Regions from separate parts of the Homo sapiens genome. Here region 2 is linked to region 1. The links are contacts of gene promoters, found by promoter capture Hi-C in human tissues and cell types (Jung and others, 2019). All regions are on one chromosome and are shown on one strand. Each heading gives the region's core, a stretch centred on a gene start or on the middle of the fragment in contact. The rest is flanking DNA. Distances are from core to core; before and after follow the strand shown.

Region 1 (2,849 bases), core at 122-2,621:
CATTGCCCTCTTCCAGGGCTAAGGGGGACTCTCCTGGGACTTAGTAAGGCCACCTATGTGCATGCCTCTGGCAGGAGCCAGGCATGTGGGATACAATGTCCTGAGTAAGCACCAGGTCCAGATAGTCCTGATTGTCACTTACTACATGGCTGTATGGCCCCAGGCATGCTGCTTCCCTCTTCCAGGCTCTGTCAGGTAGGGAAGAACAGTCTGGGGCTCAAGGAGCACATGAAGCCTTTGGACTAGAACTTGACATGGAGCCCAGCAAACGGTTTCTGATTAGAGCTAAAGCTGGTGATGTTCTGCCTGTATCACCTCAGCCTCACTACTCCCCAGCAGCAGCACCTGTGTTTCTCTGCCTAAGTACGCTCTCCAGCCTTCTGAATTGTGTGCACAGCAGGCCAGCAGTGCCAGCAGAATTGACAGCCCCTGGAGCAGCCCTCAACTGAAGACTGTCCCGAGATGCTGCATAAATACCCCAGCTCCCTCCCCACTCAGGCAAGGAAACGCTGATGGGCAGGTTCCCTGCTGTCTCCCAGAAGTCCCCACTGGGATTGAGCTCTTCTGTACTTCCTTGATAACCAGGCCTATACAGCTGCCTTCCGTTCTCTGTCTCATTTCCACACTTCCCTACTTGTGTTTCTCAGGACACCTCCCTAATAAACTTGCCCTGAACTCCTTGTTTCAGGGCAACCCAGACTACTACAAATAACTACTGTGTTCCAGGCCCCGTGCACACCGCGTGATCTCATGTGTCCTCACCTTGGGCTCTGGCTTTCTGCTTGTCCAGTGGGTGGTGGGGGCAGATGTAGCCAGGAGTCCCTCCTCACCTCTCATCCTGGCTCCCAGGCCAAGTGTGGCCCAGCTCAGGATTGCAAATCCACCTGTTTGGGTCTGGGCCTGGGAAGTTTCATCCTCAACCCTGAAGCCATGTGCCTTAACATCTGGGATGAATCATGGGCAGTTGCTCTGGACATGTCAGGTGGTAGATGAAGCCTGGGATGAGAGTGAAGGCATGATGACAGTGACTTCCGGGCCTCTGTTGGGGGTGAGAGATGACTTCTCCTGGCTCAAAGAGGCATCCGATGGGACCACAGGAGTAGAGGGTAGGGGACTGAGAGGCAGGGTGAACAGCCGCCTCCGTGTGTGTGTGAAATCAGGTGGTGTCAATTTCAACATGTCATCAACGCTCCGAGGAAACATCGCTGTCCTAATTTTGCAAGTGAGGATGTGAACCCAGGGCAGGCTGAATCCAGGGCCCCATGCCTGAGGCACCTAGTAAGGAATGAGCCCCACCTGTTGCCCTGAGGCTCACAGGAAGTAGTGGGATTTCTGGGTGGTGATAAATGTGGGCATGGCTACCAGCTGGCAAAAGGCAGGCCACCTGGAGGGAGCCACAGAGTGGAGCCTGGACCCATTCATGGGCAGCATGAGTGGACAAGTGGGTGACCTGAGCCCATCGCAGGAGAAGTCGCTGGCCCAGGTGAGTGAAGGGAGAGACTCCTACACCAGCCTCAGTTTCTCCTTCTGCCACGGGGAAGGGCAGGACTCAAGGTCCCTGAGTTTCTTCTGAACTCTCCAGCTCTGGGTCTCTTCCCAACCCTGAGGGGCTTGGTAGCCAGAGGCTACACCAGCACTAACCAATAGAAATACCACGCCACCACAAACGCAAGCCACATAGGTCATTTGAAATTTTCTTTCTTCCTTTTTTTTTTTTTTTTTTTTTTTGAGACGGAGTTTCGCTCTTGTTGCCCAGGTTGGAGTACAACGGCACAATCTTGGCTCACTGCAACTTCTGCCTTCTGGGTTCAAGCAATTCTCCTGCCCTAGCCTCCGGAGTAGCTGGGATTACAGGCACCTGCTACCACGCCTGGCTAATTTTTGTATGTTAGTAGAGATGGGGTTTTAACCACGTTGGTCAGGCTGGTCTGGAATTCCTGATCTCAGGTGATCCACCCACCTTGGCCTCCCAGAGTGCTGGGATTACAGGCATGAGCCACCATGCCCGGCCTTTTTGAAATTTTCTAGTAGCTCCATTAAAGAACTAAAAAGAGGCTGGGCGCTGTGGCTCATGCCTGTAATCCCAACACTTTGGGAGGCTGAGGTGGATGGATCATTTGAGGTCAGGAGTTTGAGACCAGCCTGGGCAACAGGGTGAAACCCTGTGGCAGGAGAATCGTTTGAACCCAGGAGGTGGAGGTTGCAGTGGGCCAAGATTCTGCCACTGCACTCCAGCCTGGGAGACAGAGCAAGACTATGTCTCAAAAACAAAACAAAAACAAAAACAAAACAAAACAAAACAAAAAAAACCTAAAAAGAAACAATTGAAGTAAAGTTTAATGATGTATTAACTTCAATATATAATCTAATCAATATAAAAACAACTGGTCTGGTGCAGTAGCTCGGGCCTATAATCCCCGCACTTTGAGGCGGGAGGATCACTGGAGCCCAGGAGTTCTGGCAACATAGCAAGAACACATCTTTACAAAAAATTAAAAAATTAGCAACATAGGGAGACCCCATCTCTAAAAACAACAACAACAACAACAAATAGCTGGGTGTGGTGGCCCATGCCTGTAGTCCCAGCTACTCGGGAGGCTGAGGTGGGAGGATGGATTGAGCCTAGGAGGTCGAGACTGCGGTGAGCCAACATCGTGCCACTGCACTCCAGCCTGGGCAACAGAGCTAGACCCTGTTTCAAAAAAAAAAAAAATGAGTGTTTTGAGGGGATACTGAGTCTTTGGAATCCTGTGTATTTTACACTCACAGCAGACCTCAGTTCAAACTAGCCACATTTTAAGAATTTGTGGCTACCATATTGGACAGGGCTGGTGAAGGCTGCTGGCCTG
Region 2 (2,849 bases), core at 238-2,737, 190 kb before region 1:
GCAGCCTCCCAAAGTGCTGGGATTACAGGCATGTGCCACCACACCCAGCCGAACATTACATATTTAAAAAATAAATTTATTGGCCGGGCGCGGTGGCTCATGCCTGTAATCCCAGTACTTTGGGAGGCTGAAGTGGGCGGATCACGTGAGGTCAGGAGTTTGAGACCAGCCTGGCCAACGTGATGAAACCCTGTCTGTATTAAAAATACAAAAATTAGCTGGGCATGGTGGTGTGCGCCTATAATCCCAGCTACTTGGGAGGCTAAGGCAGGATAATTGCTTGAACACGGAAGGCAGAGGTTGCAGTGAGCCGAGATCATGCCACTGTACTCCAGCCTGGGCGACAGAGTGAGACTCTATCTCAAAAAATAAAATAAATTTATAAAGTAAGAAACAAAATGTCTTGCTCAGGACATCTGAGCGGGCTTCCCTAATAGGCAAAGACAGCAGCTCTGGCTAAATGGTTTCACTCTCCACGATGGGGGAACCTGGGGAAACGGCTGGCTTGAGGCACAGACTGACTGCTGCTTCTGGACCTAACCCACTGCAGCATCTGAAGGGTCTGCTGAAGTCCTGACTAGCCCAAAGAAAGGCACACACAGCTCCTGCCCACCAAAAACATTTCCATGCCAAGAACTGCTCGCCAGACAGAATGGCTGAGTCTCTCACTGCTGACGATGCACAGAACATGCACGCACCTTGACCTTCCAGATTGATCCACGCTGGCCTGGGTCTCCTGGCCACCACTGCCCACCAGTGGCTTGCAATTCCCACTTCCTCCAGACTCATGACACCACCATATACACACCCGCTGTCCCAAGTGCTCACTACCTGAATGAGTGTTCATCACGCGGACAGCCTTGGCCTTGGCCAGCTCCAGGGCGGTGATCCACTGCTGCCGGTCCACCTCTGAGCTGGCCTTGAGGTGGTAGCTCCTGGCCCCACTGGTCAGCAAGATACCACAAGAGTCCTCCGTGTCAATGTGCGCGGTGGACAGGTTGATGGTTCCACGGCACGTGTGGGCCATTTCACCCTGATTTCTGTAGGATGTAAGAGAAGGAATGGGGTGAGGCTCCTAATCTCAATGGCTCCAGACTAAAGAAACCCTCCAGGCAAATCCTCAGAATCTCAGACCCTCAGAGCTGGGAGAGGCCCTGGAGTCAAAGTTGGGAGATGATGCCTATTGGAACTGCCTGGTCGTGGCTTGGTTGAGGGGGACTCTAAGGCCACGACTGCTCTCTGTGGGGAATGGCAGAGGGACGGGAGCCTGCATTGGTGCCACGTGTGCAGGGAGTGTCTGGTGTGGTCTAAAGCTTTGCAGACACCAGGAAATGGCAGAATGACTGCCCAGGTCTCTCAAGACAGATCAGCCTTCGGACTCTATGCTAAACTCTTTCCTTTAAGTCTTAGAACCATGGAGTTGGGGCCAGGCGCGGTGGCTCACACCTGTAATCTCAGCACTTTGGGAGACCGAGGAGGGCAGATCACTTGAGGTCATGAGCCAACACGGTGAAACCCTGTCTCTACTAAAAATGAAACTGCCTTTGCAAAATTATGACTGAGAGTGAAAGAGATCTAACTTAACTGACTCCATCTTGCTTCTAACCTCCAAGCTGTCTTTGTTCATTCCTGGGCATAGGCTGAATTAACTTTGAAAGAAACTTAATTTGTAGTTTATAGTTTAAACAAAGATGGGAACAGCCCTTTCCCGAAGCAGACCTCCTTCTTGCCTAGGGACTAGAGTAACATTAGCCACAGGATTAGAAATTATGGTTTAGGAGTCATGCATTTGGAGGCTATAAGATTCTGACCCTCCCTAAACTGCTCCTAAGAGCAGTGCTTGAGATATTTTGCAAACCCTGCACTTGATGGATCAGCTGGCACCACCCACATCGATAAACTGGCTCGTCTGATCTTGTGGCCCCCACCTAGGAACTGACTCAGCACAAGAAGACAGCTTCAACATCCTGTGATCTCATCCCTGACCAATCAGCACTCCTGGCTTACTGGTTCCCCCACCACCCTCCAAGTTATCCTTAAAAACTCTGCTCCCCTTGGCCAGGCGCGGTGGCTCACACCTTTAATCCCAGCACTTTGGGAGGCCGAGATGGGCAGATCACCCGAGGTCAGGAGTTCAAGACCAGCTGGCCAACATGGTGAAATCCCGTCTCTACTAAAAATACAAAAATTAGCTGGGCGTGGTGGCTCTTGCCTGTAATCCCAGCTACTCGGGAGGCTGAGGCAGGAGAATTGCTTAAACCAGGACCGGGGAGGCAGAGGTTGCCGTGAGCCAAGATCGCGCCACTGCACTCCAGCCTGGGCTACAGAGCGAGACTCTGTCTCAAACACAAACAAACAAACAAAACAAAACAAAACAAAAACTCTGCTCCCTGAATGCTCAGGGAGACTGATTTGAATAATAATAAAACTCCCATCTCCCGCACAGCAGACTCTGTGTGAATTACTCTTTCTCTATTGCAATTCCCCTGTTTTCATGAATCGCCTCCGTCTAGGCAGCAGGCAAGGTGAACCCCTTGGGCGTTTACAAAAATACAAAAATTAGCCGGGCATGGTAGCGTGCACCTGTAGTCCCAGCTACTTGGGAGGCTGGGGCAGGAGAATCACTTGAACCCGGGAGGCGGAGGTTGCAGTGAGCCAAAATGGTGCCACTACACTCCAGCCTGGGTGACAGAGCGAGACTCTGTCTCAAAACAAACAAAAAAAAGAACTACAGAGTTGGAGCAGGTTGGGATCCTGCCATTAAAACTGAAATTGGAGGCCCAGAGCCTGAGGGGGCAGACGTAGAGGCATCTCCTGCTGGGAGGCACCTGGGGCCAATGTCTCCCTGA

Evidence for each region. The method cuts DNA at HindIII sites, captures the fragments that hold promoters and counts their contacts. A contact is called where the count stands out against the background at its distance.
Region 2: a fragment that was not itself captured here is called in contact with the fragment with the promoter of SEC14L6 in region 1 in 1 of the 25 tissues and cell types used here (IMR-90 fibroblasts).

What each region holds. Positions count from the first base shown.
Region 1 is chr22:30,545,263-30,548,111 of GRCh38, reverse strand. It overlaps SEC14L6 (SEC14 like lipid binding 6), which reads left to right and starts at 1,371. Exons shown (of 12, transcript NM_001193336.4): 1 at 1,371-1,483. The coding sequence starts at 1,430. The HindIII fragment of the contact is 18,463 bases long and covers 1-2,849 here.
Region 2 is chr22:30,739,352-30,742,200 of GRCh38, reverse strand. It overlaps OSBP2 (oxysterol binding protein 2), which reads right to left. Exons shown (of 14, transcript NM_030758.4): 2 at 832-1,040. Among named protein-coding and RNA genes, the nearest start is that of MIR3200, 9.2 kb to the right of the region's middle. RefSeq lists enhancers at 1,444-1,503, 1,794-1,853. The HindIII fragment of the contact is 6,032 bases long and covers 1-2,849 here.